Linked DNA regions of Homo sapiens: region 1 is linked to region 2. The links are contacts of gene promoters, found by promoter capture Hi-C in blood cells and fetal thymus (Javierre and others, 2016). All regions are on one chromosome and are shown on one strand. The core of a region is centred on a gene start or on the middle of the fragment in contact, and the rest is flanking DNA. Distances in the headings are between cores, read along the strand shown. Region 1 has its middle 18 kb from the start of OLFM1. Region 2 holds the start of LINC02907 (long intergenic non-protein coding RNA 2907).

The links. The method cuts DNA at HindIII sites, captures the fragments that hold promoters and counts their contacts. A CHiCAGO score of 5 or more calls a contact.
Region 1: a contact is called between a fragment that was not itself captured here and the fragment with the promoter of LINC02907 in region 2, in 1 of 17 cell types (endothelial precursors). The highest score is 5.2, in endothelial precursors.

Annotation. Positions count from the first base shown.
Region 1 is chr9:135,066,416-135,073,428 of GRCh38, reverse strand. No RefSeq gene overlaps it. Among named protein-coding and RNA genes, the nearest start is that of OLFM1, 18 kb to the left of the region's middle. RefSeq lists an enhancer at 2,637-3,534. The HindIII fragment of the contact is 4,807 bases long and covers 874-5,680 here.
Region 2 is chr9:135,341,417-135,348,748 of GRCh38, reverse strand. It overlaps LINC02907 (long intergenic non-protein coding RNA 2907), which reads right to left and starts at 5,500. Exons shown (of 3, transcript NR_171012.1): 1 at 5,278-5,500; 2 at 4,296-4,727; 3 at 2,187-3,455. RefSeq lists an enhancer at 5,747-6,459. The HindIII fragment of the contact is 15,144 bases long and covers 2,365-7,332 here.

The DNA of each region.
Region 1 (7,013 bases), core at 2,028-4,527, 270 kb after region 2:
CTACTGAGGAGATCCAGTGCAGGAATAAACACACTCTATATGCTTAAGAACTCTACGTGCATGGGGCACGCGCAGCACCCCAGGCCTCGACCCAAGTTTCTCCTTCAGCCTTCACATTGATGCTCCAAGTGGCCGCTAATAAATGTCTGGGCTCTGGGAGACCTGTGACATGGCCATAGAGCTGGAGTGCGACCCCCGTCTTTGGGGTTTTGTTCCTGTGGGCTGGGGAGGAAGGCTGCATTGATTTCCTTGAGTGGACTGAGGCCTCAGATCCAATTTTAGCAAGGATGGTTTTTATTTTTAAAGTTACACACCAGGTGACCCAGCAATTCCACTTCTGAGTACACACCCAAGGGAAGAGAAAGCAGGGACTGGAGCGGATATGTACACGCCTACGTTCATGGCAGCATTATTCATAACAGCCAAAAAGTGGGAACAGACAGGGCGTGGTGTCTCACGCTTGTAATCCCAGCACTTTGGGAGGCCGAGGCGGGTGGATCACCTGAGGTCAGTACTTTGAGACCAGCCAGGCCAACATGGTGAAACCCAGTATCTACTAAAAATACGAAAATTAGCCAGGTGTGGTGATGGGCACCTGTAGTCCCGCCTAGTCAGGAGGCTGAGGCAGGAGAATCGCTTGAACCAGGGAGGCGGAGGTTGCAGTGAGCCGAGATCACGCCATTGCACTCCAGCCTGGGGGACAGAACGAGACACCATCTTAATAAAACAAATAAGCAAACAAACAAAAAAGTGGGAACAACCCCTGTGTCCATCAACAGATGCATCAACAGACAGATGTGCTCCATCCAATGAACTGTTACCAGCGATGAAGAGAAGGGAAATTCCAACACATGCTACAACACAGATGAAGCTTGAAGACATTATCCTCAGCAAAATAAGCCGGTCACTGACGGACAAGTACTGCAGGATTCTGCTTTTATGGGGTCCCTAGAGTAGTCACATTCACAGAGCTGGGAAGTAGATTAGTGGTTACCAGGGGCTAAGGGGAAGGAGGTTGGGACATGATTGGTGAGTGGGTACAAGTTTAAGCCTGGAATAATGACAAAGTTTTGGAAGTCGACAGTGGTGACGGTGGCACAATATGGTGAATGTCATCAGTGCCACAAACTTGTGCACTTCATGGGTAAAATGGTAAATTTTATGTTATGCATATGTAACCACAGTTTTAAAAATATAGTAATATAATATACCAAAACCATTGAATTGTACACCTTAAGTGAGTGAATTGTATGGTATGTAAAACATATATATATATATATTTTTTTTTTTTTTTTTTTTTTTGAGACGGAGTCTCGCTCTGTCGCCCAGGCTGGAGTGCAGTGGATCGATCTCAGCTCACTGCAAGCTCCGCCTCCCAGGTTCATGCCATTCTCCAGCCTCAGCCCCCCGAGTAGTTGGGACTACAGGCGCCCGCCACCACGCCCAGCTAATTTTTTGTATTTTTAGTAGAGACGGGGTTTCGCCATGTTAGCCAGGATGGTCTCGATCTCCTGACCTCGTGATCCGCCCGCCTCGGCCTCCCAAAGTGCTGGGATTACAGGCATGAGCCACCACCTGTAAACTATATCTTAATAAAGCTGTTTTTTTTTTAAAAAAAAATACAGACTTATTATTGTATTTCTTTAAAAAGATAAAATACAAAGAAGAATGTAAAAGTAACGAAAGCCCCCTACCCAGAATAGCCAGTGTTGACCATGGGGCTGCTCTGCAGGCATTCCTCTGTGCACGTGATCAGGAAATGCAAAATGTGCAAACGTAAGAGGGTGGCCTCTAAGACCAAATGGCCTGGGTGCCAAGCCAGAGCCCCCCTCTTGGGAGCTGTTGAGGCCCTGGGCCAGTCACCCTCTCCGGGCCCCATTTATCTCCCTGGGGGTGGATTGATGATGGCAGCCCCACCTCAGTGCCCAGCTGAGTGGCGTCAGGGAGCCACAGCCGTGCCAAATATTTAGAACTGTGCCTGGCACGTGGCAATGGCTAGAAAGAAATAGGAAGGATGGGCAAATGCTGGTGTAAAAGATGACATCATCCTTCCCAGGCTTTGCAGCCCAGAAATATTAGATTGAACTGCAACGTAAAGAAGGAAGGGGAACAAAGTCAAGCCGAAGATGCTGCTGACTTCAAGCGCGTTTATCTTCACCATGCGAGGCATTGTTTCCTAGAAGAACCTTCTAAGATTGAGAAGGAAAAGTCTATGAAGACCGTTAACTGTTTGGAATTAGACATTCTCTATCCCGTGGTCCCGTTTTTGACAATAACGCCCACTTCCTCTTTTGAAAGCCTGGGTAATATTCAGCTCCTCTTTCTCTGGCCACCCTGTCCCTCCTCTCAATCTGTACTGCTTGTATTATTTGTATCTTGTCCGTACTTTTAATATTTATATTTGCTTCTGCAACCCAAGCTCCTAGCTCTTTGGCTCTAGTTCTGGATTTTGGGGAATCTGGCATCCACTCGGGCCCCTCGAGGAGGTTGCTCCGAGTTCTTCATTGTGTCCACCCCTTTGGGGTTGGCTGAGGTTCAGGTAGAGGGAGGCCACAGCCCGTGACACCAACACACCTCACTGCTGACAGATTTAGATGCTTGTCTTTTCCTCATCCCATGGCGTTCCTGTCTGCAAAATCAGGAAGCTCCCTAGAGCAGAGGCTCCATGTAGAGGTGGGTGTGGGGCCTGGGTCCCAAAGCTCCAGTCGGTCTGGGGCAGCTGCCCACCTCCTCCACCCCAGCTCTGAGATCCTGAGCTACCTTGGGATGAGGCCAAGTGGGTACCCAGCATCAGCCCGCCTCACTCTTTGGTGGGTACCGTGGGTCCTGGGACACCCCCACCCGCCCCTCTTCTGCTGCCTTCCTGATGGAGCTTGGGCAGCAGGCACCCAGGAAGCAGCCGCTTTCCCGCTGAGCTGCCTCAGGACACCAGCAAATCGATCTGCTTTGTGCTCCTCTAAGACAAGCCTCCTTCTACTGCTGAGCCCCATTAGAATGTGACAGAGCGTTGCCAAGGCAACGGCACTAACTCTCCCCTCCTCTCTGCGAATTTCCTAGCAAATGGGACCCAAAATCCACGCGATCGGCTCCCTGTGCCCTGAGCCTTCAGGCTGCCGGCTTCACCCTCTCCAAATCCAGCTGAGCCGAGCGAGCACCCAGATGGCCTCCCTGGCCCCTGGGGACACCGGCCTGGGGCGGTGGTGAATAGGCTCACAGAGGACCCAGGCTGCCCCTCCTTATCAGCTCCCTGGACTTGTGCACGGCAACCAGCTGCTTCTGTTTGGAAGCCGTCAAGCAAGGAAAGGGTGGCCAGCTCTGCTTCTGGGACCACCTGGGTGGTTTGGAGTTCTCAGCCCCACTGTGTGTTGGGCACGCGCTGAGCTTATGCCATTCTCTCACTAAATCCTTGCAGCCTAGGAGCACATTTGATGTTCACGGGAGTCAGTCGTGCACTTGCCGGTGTTCAGCCGGGGCAGGCAGCACCAAACCCTGCTCCGTGGTCTCCCCCTCGTCACTTCCCTGCTTGTCCAGCTGTGATTCCTCCAGAAGTCTCTCCTGTGCTCTCAGTTCCCTGGCGTTGCCCATCCTCCTGTCTTCCTGGCGACACCCAACTCTCTGTCCACCCCTCCCTGCTCCCTGACAGCTGAGCAGGGCCAGGGAAATCACACCGCCTTGTGGACTGGTCCCTGTTTGAATTCATGACCTCCCAGCCCAAGGGAGTCCTGAAATCCTGTCTCTGCCTCCCCCTGCCCACAGCCCCAACTCCCTTGGAGGGGCTCTAACTCTTTCTCCCCTGCTCCTCGGCCCTCCTCCTCCCACCTCTCCCCTGCCCCTCCGTCCTCCTCCTCACACCTCTCCCCTGCCCCTTGGCCCTCCTCCTCACACCTCTCCCCTGCCCCTTGGCCCTCCTCCTCACACCTCTCCCCTGCCCCTTGGCCCTCCTCCTCACACCTCTCCCCTGCCCCTTGGCCCTCCTCCTCACACCTCTCCCCCGGCAGATGACATGATTCTCACTGCACCGAGGAAGGCCCAGCCCAACTCTCAGCTCCCATCACAAGATCCACCACCCAGACTCCTGCCTGGCCCTGCCTTGCTCCTTGCAGGAGGTGAATCATCTCTGCCCCCATGCAGGACCACCATTCCGTGGGCCCGGGAGCTTGCCCCCTCCCTGCTCTGTCTCCCCACACCTGTCCTCTCGTCGAAAACATGTTGCCGTTTTTGCCCATCTTCACCAAAGAAATGTCTTTCCTTTCATCCCCTGCAGCCACGCCCCACCTCTCTGTCCTCCTTTGCAGAGATGAATGTCCACATCCCATCTCTCCAGGCTGCTCCTCCACACAGCTCTGGGCAAGCTCACCAGCGACTTCCTCGTCATCAAACGCAACGGTGGCAATGCCAGCCTTCATCTGACTGGAGGGAACCAGCGACACCCGGCACAGACTCTCCTCCCTCTACCCTGGAAGCCTCGCTTCCTCTGGATGGTGCATGCCCCTGCCTTGCGTGCCCTCGTCCCTCCCTGGCTGCTCCTCCCCAGGCTCTGTGCTGTGCTGGGCCTCACCGCCTTCCCACTTTCTTTTCTTTCTTTTTTTTTTTTTTAGATGGAGTCTCAATCTGTCTGCAGGCTGGAATGCAGTGGCGAGATCTTGGCTCACTGCAACCTCCGCCTCCCGGGTTCAAATGATTCTCCTGCCTCAGCCTCCCAAGTAGCTGGGACTACAGGTGCATGCACCACACCCAGCTAATTTTTGTATTTTTAGTAGAGACGGGGTTTCACCATGTTGGCCAGGCTTGCACCTTCCCACCTTCTAATGGTTGGGTGTTTCAAGGCTCTGTCCTCCATGGCCCCCCGCCAGGTGCCTCCTCCAGCGCAGGACAGGAACTCCCATTGCTGTGCTCCCCTCACTTACATCTCAGCATAGCCTCTTCTCTGAATTCCCAGCTCATACTGCACCACCTGACAGTGTCCCTTGGTATCTAACGTGCTTGTGCACCTGGCGAGTCTGCAGCACGGCTCTTTGTAGCCTACCCCAGACCCAGCCAGCTCCTGCCCCACCTTCCCAGTCCAGGGAACAGCAGTTCCGCCCTTCCTGTTGCCCAGGCCCAAATTCCAGGAGCTATGCCGGGCAACCCGCTTCCTTTTAAATCTCACATCCAACTCACCCGCAAGTCTTTCGGGCCAACCTGAATTATCCAGCACCGCCCCACACAGTCATCAACCACTCAACTGCATCCTCCAGTCTCCCTGCCGCCTCCCTAACCCTGCGGCCAGGGTGGATTTACAGAATCTTCCCTGAGGTCCTGACCCGGCAGAGGCTTCCCACAGGGCTGAGAGCCCTCCGTCCTCTGTCATGAGGTCCCCACCACCTCTCATATCCCACCCCCTTTCTCTCCCCTCGCTCAGTCCTGTTCGGCTGCACTGCCCTGCCCTGAGGCTGCTTGGGGACATCCCTGCTTTCCTGCCAGGAGCCTGTTGTCCCTGACGCCATGTGAATCCCACCCCGGCTTCATTCAGGCCCTGGACTCTGCTTTGTTTTCTTAGCTTTTCTGACTGTGTGATGGAGTAAGGCTCTCTCTCCCTCACTAGAGCTCCCTGAAGGCAAACAGAGCCCTAGTGAGGGAGAGAGAGCGTTATTACATCAGACAGGGCTGATGGTGAGAAGATACCCCAACCTGAGAAGCTTAAGGCAACGGAGATTCATTCTCTCCAAGTTCTGGAGGGGAGAAGTCCAAGACGAAGGTGTTGGCAGGGCTGTCCTCCCTCCAGAGGCTCTAGGGGAGGATCCTTCCTGCCTCCTGCAGCTTCTGGAGGCCCTGGGTGTTCCTAGGCCTGTGGCTGCTCCAGTCTTCCAGGCCAGCACCTTCAAGCTGTCTCTGCTGCATCTCCATGTCCCCTGCTCCTCCGCATGTGTCTCCCCCAACCCTGCATGTGTCTCTCCCCTCTGCCTGTGTCCCCACCGCTCCCTGCCGCGTGTGTCTTCCCCACTGCATGTGTCTCCCCGCCGTGCATGTGTCTCCCCCCAGCATGAGTCTCCCCCGGCATGTGTCTCCCCTCCTGCATGTGTTCCCCCCCATTGCACGTGTCTCTCCCCCACATGTGTCTCCCGCAATGTGTGTTTTCCTCCCCGCATGTGTCTCCCCTCCCCACATGTGTCTTCCCCCCCGCATGTGTCTCCCCGCTGCATGTGTCTCCCCCCGACATGTGTCTCCCCCAACCCTGCATGTGTCTCTCCCCTCTGCCTGTGTCCCTACCGCTCCCTGCCGCGTGTGTCTTCCCCGCTGCATGTGTCTCCCCCCCGTGCATGTGTCTCCCCCCAGCATGAGTCTCCCCCGGCATGTGTCTCCCCTCCTGCATGTGTCCCCCCCAACTGCATGTGTCTCCCTCTCACATGTGTCTCCCCCCATATGTGTTTTCCTCCCCGCATGTGTCCCCCCTCCCCACGTGTCTTCCCCCCCACATATGTCTCCCCCAACATGTGTCTCCCCCAGACATGTGTCTTCCCCTCCACATGTGTCTCCCCCACTGCATGTGTCTCCCCTCTTGCATGTGCCTCCTCTCCTGCATGTGTCCCCCCAAATGCATGTGTCTCCCCCACACATGTGCCTCCTCTCCTGCATGTGTCCCCCACTCTGCATGTGTCTCCCCTCCCCACATGTGTCTCCCCCCTGGCATGTGTCTCCCCCCCACATGTGTCTCCTTTCCTGCATGTGTCCCTCCAACTGCATGTATCTCCCTGCTGCATGTGTCTCCCCCCCAACCACGTGTCTCCCCCCCACATGTGTCTCCCCCAACATGTGTCTCCCCCAGACATGTGTCTTCCCCCCCACATGTGTCTCCCCCAACATGTGTCTCCCCCAGACGTGTGTCTTCCCCCCCACATGTGTCTCCCCCACTGCATGTGTCTCCCCCCGTGCGTGTGCCTCCTCTCCTGCACGTGTCCCCCCAACTGCATGCGTCTCCCCCACACATGTGTCTCCTTTCCTGCATGTGTCCCCCCAACTGCATGTATCTCCCC
Region 2 (7,332 bases), core at 4,251-6,750:
CTGTAGTGAATCAGAGACTCGATCGGAATCTGTGGCGTTGGCATGGGTGGGTGGCCCTGGGAAGGTGGAACAACTTGCTAGATTGAGTCCTGCCAGGGAGGGGGGGGCGGGAGGTGGGAGGAGCTGCAGATGGAGAGCAGCAGAAATGCCACCTGGCGTCCAGGCCCTCCCGAGAGGAGCGAGGGGCTTCTCCGTGTATCTAAAGGGAACGTGGCCCAGACACCAGCACCCTGCACCTTGTTGACTGGGAGCCGGGTTTCAGTTTCCCCACCTGTGCTTTTCATCTCAGGGGCTGGTGGTGAGAAAACTGAGCGTGCCCCAGCTTTGTGCCACCACCAGCAGCTCCTGGAGTGTGTTTCCTGGGTCAGGCCTCCCGGGAGAGTCTCTAGGATGGAGCTGTCCCACCGTGAGACGCTCGCTGGTGGCCTGGGCTGGGGGCTGGTGAGGACCAGCCGGGGCCAGGGCGCTAGGATCCCATGACAACCGGGGCGGGGCTCACACACTGGAACCCAGGTCCTGTCCTTGCCGGACGCTCGCTCAGCTTGGGGGGGGCACAGAGATTTGAGAAGCTCACCTCATTCTACCCGATCTTAACCTCACCAAGCCCAGGGCCTCCATGAAAGGAGGATCTCCAAAGACCATTGTCTTTCCTTTAGTCATTCAACAAACATGTATTGCGTGTCTATCTGGTGCAGGACCCAAACTACTTGCCTACATGGAGCAGACATTCTAGTGCGGAGGGAAGGGTGGCGGGAAGTAAATACACTAAAGGGGAAGATAAGGGGACGCGGTGACAGGCAAGAGTGTAAGACACGGTGATGTGTACGAGTCCCGTCTGCTGGCTGGGGGCTGCTACTTCCAAGTGCAGGGGCTCAGGTGTCTTTGTCAAGGGGTGACGTTTGGGTTGACACTCGAACAGCAAGAAGACGTCAGGAGAAAGCATTCCCAGCAGAGCAGAAGCCAGGCCGAAGGCTAGCCCCCTTCCCTGCCTCTCTTTCTCGTAAGGAATCAAGGAGGCCTTCAGGAGCCGGGAGGCATTGCCTGGCAGTGAGCAAGCGCCTGATGCCTTCCTGAGTCACAACTCTTCAGAGCTGGCTTGAGGAACTCGGCCTGGAAGCAGCCGTGTACTCATGGACCCCTGTCGTGCTCTGCTGTCCTGTCCTGCGCTCTGAATACTCTCCGGATACTCTCCCAGCCATTTCTCACTGAACAGTGAGATAGGAGAACCGTGCACCTTGGTGGGCGGGTCTGGCCCACAGAGGGGTGTGTTCCTTCACTGAGTGACAGGGTCTGCAGAGTGCCAGGGTGTGCTTGCCGGGTGCTGGGGCAGGGACACAACAGTGCGCTCACCGGGCAGCCCACCAGGAGACGGGCATTACCACCCTACTCCCCAAACTGCGAGTCCCGGAGCATCTGACTGATTCCAGGGTCAGGAGCCCCACCCGGGGGAAGTGACTGTGGCTGAGATCTTGGGGATGGGCTGACCCCCTGGGGGAGGAGTTCTGGGCACAGGGAACACGGAAGCCGTGTCTGACTGTGGGAGTGGGTACAGTAAACATGGAATAAAGGACCCAAGGGGCTGAGGCCAGGACCTGGGGGCAAGACCGGTGGGGTTGGCAGAGGACAGCACATCCTGAGAAGAGTGCCAGCCTCCGACGACTTCCAGCAGGACAGTGGCACCATGAAGCATGTATGGTGACACATTCTCTCTGTGTGGAGGGTGCATTGGAGCAGGTGGGATGGGAGGGGGCAGCTGGGCCTAGGGGTGCCGGGGGGCTGGATGGCAGCTGGAGGAGGGTGAAGTCTGGACTCGCTGGGTCTTTGGGAGGAGGAGGCAGAGCCCCGGCCCAGAGCCTGCAGGGCGGCCTGAGAGCATTCTCCTCGGGCAGGTGGGAGCTGAAGCCGGGTGTGACAGGTTGGCCTGAGGGTGAGGCCAGAGGAGGAGGTGCCAGGGAGGCCCCAGGGCCACCAGGGGCATCATCCAAGCCCAGACCTGAGTGTGCTTCTTGAAGGGAGTGGCCAGTGGTGACCCCAGGGCTGCAGAGGCGTGGGACGAGACTGGTCCCTGGCCCAGGAGGAGCTGCTGGGGGTGGAGGCGCTCCGGGCCTGGGCGCCAGATTGGAGTGGGCCGTGGAGCTGGTGGGAGGGGAGAAACGGGGACAGCGGGTACCGCCAATTCTCCTGAGTTTTTTCATCTTTCTCTTTTATTTAACACAATCAGTGAAAGGCGTGTTCTAGAATACCAGCCTTAGTCCTCAGACATGTTAATATGAGGCCAACTTGTAATGGGGGAGCAAACATGGCCCCTGGCCTGAATGCAGGCAGCAAAGTCCATTTCCAGGCAGCGTCGACCTCAGGGAAGCTTCCAAGCCCAGTTGCTGGCTGTGTGGTTGGCGCCGAAAGCTGGGGTGCGCTGTGTTCTCAGGGGTGTCGGCACTGCTGCAGGCACACCTGGGACCTGCTCTTGAAGCCACCCCACAAGGAGCAAGGCAGCCCACGGATGCCCAAAGTGCAGCTCGGAACAGAGCCAGCAGGCTCGACTCCATGCATGCTGTTTGATCTGCAAAAAGTGGAGAAGGAGCAGGCGCGGAGCGGGTAGAGAGGGAGGGAGATTTTTTTCTCTTTTATGGCAGAAACCTGAAAGTGTTGGCTGGCAGGGGAGGGGGAGCGAAGGTGCGAGTTCCTGGAGAAGACAGCGCACCAGCTTCGTGCACAGACCATGACAGGCCCTCCTGCTGGTGGGCGCCCACACTGTCGCCCACAGCCCTCCTGCAGGCGCCTTGGAGCGGGTCCCTGGCAGTGGGCAGGGCTGGCCCGCCCCTGCAGAGTGAAGGATAGCCCGGGTTTGGGAACCATGTGTGAGGGTTGGAGATGTCTCTGGGGCCTGTGATCTGCTCCGGGTTGGGTTGGGCTGGGCTGTAGTTGAGGGGCTTTGGGGGACACTGGTCCTCACAGGCTCAAACTAATGTCCACCATGCAGGGTGGTGGCCCTCCCTCTGGAGCTGCTCAGACATTCACATGTGTGTGCACATAGCCAGGCACATACAGGCATACGCACACATGTGCAGAAATGCACATACGTATGCATATCCATGCATGCATATATATAGACACAGACCCGGGCACACAGGCACACACATGCACAAATGCATCACATGCAGAGAGACTCAGGGGCATGCGCACACACACATACCCAGAGCTGCACATGCAGGCACACACACACATATGCCCACAAGTACACTTGTTTGTGTGAAGCACAGACATCCACACGCAGGCATATGTATGCATGCACACACACCTACATGTGCAGACCCTCTAGCCTGAGAAGCCCAGGTCTTCCAGGCAGATGGTTGTGTGAGTTTCTCTCTCCCAGGACCAGGCAGACGCAGCATAGAAGCCCTGATCCGTCTGTTCCTAACCCAGCAAGTGACACACAATAGCCTCTCTGTGTGGCCCTGAGTGGAGATGAGATTCAAAAAGAAAAAAGCAGCTTTCAACTTCCTCTACGTGAAAGGTCATCGCCCCCTCCCCACGTGGGGGTGTCAGGCGATGAGGGAGCCTGGGAGCCCAAGCAGGCTCTCGACAGACAGCTGTCTCTCGCATGTGATGGTGCCGCCGTCTTTCTCACCAGCAGCACGACGCTGCAGGCTCTAGGGGCTGTGGGTAGAGACAGACGGCCTGTGCCCTTTACATCCTTCCAGCCAAGCCCGCTGCTGTACTCCAGATGCGGGCCTTGTTTGCCCTCCCCGCGTATCTCTGAGGTCCCCACGAATTGCTGTGTGGCATGAATGTGAGATCCCTGCCATGGTATCCAAAAGGCAAGCCTCTACTTACAGGAGGGATGAAGGCCCTGAGGGGTGGTGGGTGTCCCATCCCCCTGAGAGTTGGGGGTGCAGAGGGCCCCTCTGCACCTGACCTGCCACCTGGTGGTCACTGTGGTGAGAAAGGGGTCCTGGGACTTCAGGCCTGGGGTTTTGGGGTGAAGATGTCTTGTCTAGAGGCACCAGCTGCCCACAGCCCTGCAGCCACCCTGGCCGAGAGCAGATGATCCAGCGAGTCCTCAGGGGAACATTATCCTCTTTGCAAAATAACTGTGGAATTAGAGCTTGATGTGGGCTTAGCGGGTGCCCTGCAGTGTCTCAGTTCATTCCTACCCAGCAAAGTGGCTGACGTGAGAGCGGGGTCTGCACCGACAGCAGGACCTCCCTGTTCACCTGCTCCCGAGACCACCAGGGAGCCATGCTGTGGCTGTGGCTGAGGCTGAGGGTGGGGCAAGAACCCAAATGCACACAAACCTGCATCATCCGTCCAGCACTGGATCCCAGGGTCTCTCTAGACATTTTAAAAGATCTTTAAAAACAGGGAAGAAAGAAACCAACCCCATTGGGGCGGTGGCGGCTCCCTTAAACTTTCAGCGACTGCCATGAGAACAGAGATTTCGGTGGCTCCAAAGAACACAGGCTTATATTCCTTTGCTTTTCTTGAGGTTCTTATGCCGGAAAGATGCAGGTGTTGCCTGCCCTCTTGCCCTGTGAGGCTGTTCCTCAGCCGCCAGCCCAGGACTGGGCGTCCGGCCGTTCTGTCCACGCTGCAGCCCTGCTGTCCGCTAGATGGCGCTGCGTCATGCCCGTGGCGGGCCTGTCTGGAACCCAGGAAGGCCTGGCGGAGTTCCAGGAGGGTCTCTGGAGACCCAGGCGTCAGCACAGTGGCGGGGACGAGTCCCCTCCCTGGAGGGTGTGAGATCCCCTCATTGCCGGGCTCTGGGCACCCAGAGCACAGATTTTGTTCGCTCACTGCTGGAGAAGCATAGCCTGCCTGGGAAATGCCCCCTCCCCTCTGTGGAGCCGGGAGGTATGCATGCAGGCATGTGTGTGTGTACACGTGTGTGCACACGCCTGTGCCTGTGTGTGCCTTGTGCATTCTGTGCAAGGATGTGTGTGCATGCGCATGCATGCATGCACACACCTGCACACACTCCTGTGGCCGTGTGCTCTTGTGCATATGTGGGGGTTCTGTGTGTGTGTCTGGGGACAGGGAGGTATAGGAGGCAGCTCCCTTTAGCCCATTGGAGGCTAGCCCTGTGTATGTGCTGGACTCCAAGATGACAAAGACCTGCCCAGGTCTCAGCCTCAGCCTGTAACTGCTCTGAGCCTCCATTTACTCATCTGTAAAATTGAGATGCCCCAGTTACCTCCCAGGTGTGATGAGGCCCCATGGAGACCATGGGGCGAGAGGGCCCTCCCCACAGGCATGACGCAAAGTGACATCGATACACACCTGTGTTGTGGTCACGCACCTCCAGCAGCGGCCACAGGAAGGACACTGAGGTCTGCCCTGGGCTGAGGCCCATGGCATCCTGTTCATCATGGGGGTGCCACGGAATCCCCCATCCCACAGGGGAGGAGACGCAAGCTGAGAGGCGAAGCCACAAGCCTGACTCTGAGCCCAGGCTGTCGTCCCGGGCCGCGGTGCCCACACTGCCACTCAGCCCTGGCTGGAGATGCAGTGCTGAGGTGGGCAGGTGGCTCCACCAGCCCCATGAGGCTCAGTGGGACCTGGTGGAGGGTGGCACTGGCCTTGGAGAAGACTTGAGCCCAGCCTCTCTGTGCTGGCAGCTGGGAATGCTGAGAGGCAGGAGGAAGCTGGGGGGCACTTCCTGAGCCCCCACTGCATGGGGACAAAACCCAGGGATCCCTCCCCAGGCAGAGACCCCACCGGGCTCGATCACCAGACTTCTGGCTGTCAGCTGGCACAGAGGCCCAGCAGGGACAACCCCGGAGGAGGGGAATGTGTCATTGGGAGCCTGGGCAGCCATCAACTAGTCCTGGCCTAAACGTGGAGCACCTGGTGCCCGGCCCTTTGGCAGGGCCTTCCTTGGGGACAGAGGTGACTGCTGGTGCCTGGACCCAGGAAGCTCCCCCATCTCCCCAGGCCACCAGAGGCCCCGAGTCACTCCCGGGTGAAAACACAAATCCAGGCTGGGGCAGCTGACAGGTGGTTCCCAGGGAGGAACTGAGGGGTTGAGGGGCAGGAGAGGTGGGAGCTGGACACAGTGACTTCTGGGGCATCAGGCCTCGGCCATCTCCGAAGGAGGGCTCCCGGGAGGTGCACGTGGACAAGATTTCTGGACGAGATCAGGCTGCTTACCCGTCTGCCAAGGCCCTGCAGCTTGGGTGTCTTTGCGAACCTGTCAGTAATTGGGGTTGTGTCCAACAGCCTGTGCCAGGCTCCTTGGCGGGGCAGTCCTTGCAGCAGTCCTTGAAGGTCACCTCGAGAGCCAAGGCTGGGCAAAGCGATGGATCCATCAGGTGCAGGGGGAATGGTGTCTGGGGCCCACAAAGGTCACGATGTGGCCCCGCAGGTGCCAATGAGGGAGCCAGGGTCCAGCCACCTGTGCTTGCCAGCTGGGTGCCCTGGTACCAGGGGACGAGCTCCTTCTTGGTTTGCACAAAGGCTGGTGGGCCCCGTCCAGGAGCTGCTGCCCAACAGTGTGCTCTCGGATCCCTAGGACACGGGGGCCCCAGCTGCATGCTGTGCTCAGCCCCATCGGACACTGGGAGCCCCCTTCTATGGAACCAGAGCTCCCGAGGGGATGCTAGAAAAGTGTGGAGCTCTTTTCCTGGGCGCTGAGCCCCCTGTCCATGGTAGGAAAGAGGACAGTATTAGTGATGGGGATGCAGGGACACCTGTGGCTTCAGAGCATCAGCTTGGAGTGTCTGATTTAGTCATGAGACAGCCTCACCTGGGGAGAACTTTCTTCCCATTTTACAGAGGGGTAAATAGAGGCTGCTGTGGCGCCCTGCCCAGGAGCCCTGGCTGCTTCGAGGCTGAGGAAAGCAGGGAGGTGAGCAGCTCGGGGCCTGCCCTGCAGGTGCACCCGGACCCTGGGTGGGCCCTGCCACCCCGCACGCCTTCCCCAGAGCCCTCTGAGCCTTGGCCGGTGGGCGGACGGAGAAGGTTCTGAGGGGAGGAGTCTGGAAAGAGGGAGGGGCTTTGTGAGGGACCACAGGGGAAGTGGGGCTGAGCCTCTGCTGTCCTCAGCCTCTGCTGTCCTCAGCTGGGTCTCCCACCAGGTCCCTTCCACCCGCTGTGGCCTTGGCGTCCTTCTTGCTTGGGCCCCATGGGTCAGCTGTGGGTGCCTGGACACCCATAAGTGGCCATCCTGCCTGGGTCCCTGGACCTCTTGCCACCTCTCCCATCCCCACACACCTGCCACCATGCCAGCAGCCACTTTCTAGAGCCTTCCGTAGCAAATGAGTTCCTTCATCTCAAATTAGGTGCAGGGGGAATGGTGAGGCTTTCTATAAAAGCCTCTCTGCTGATGACGGCTTC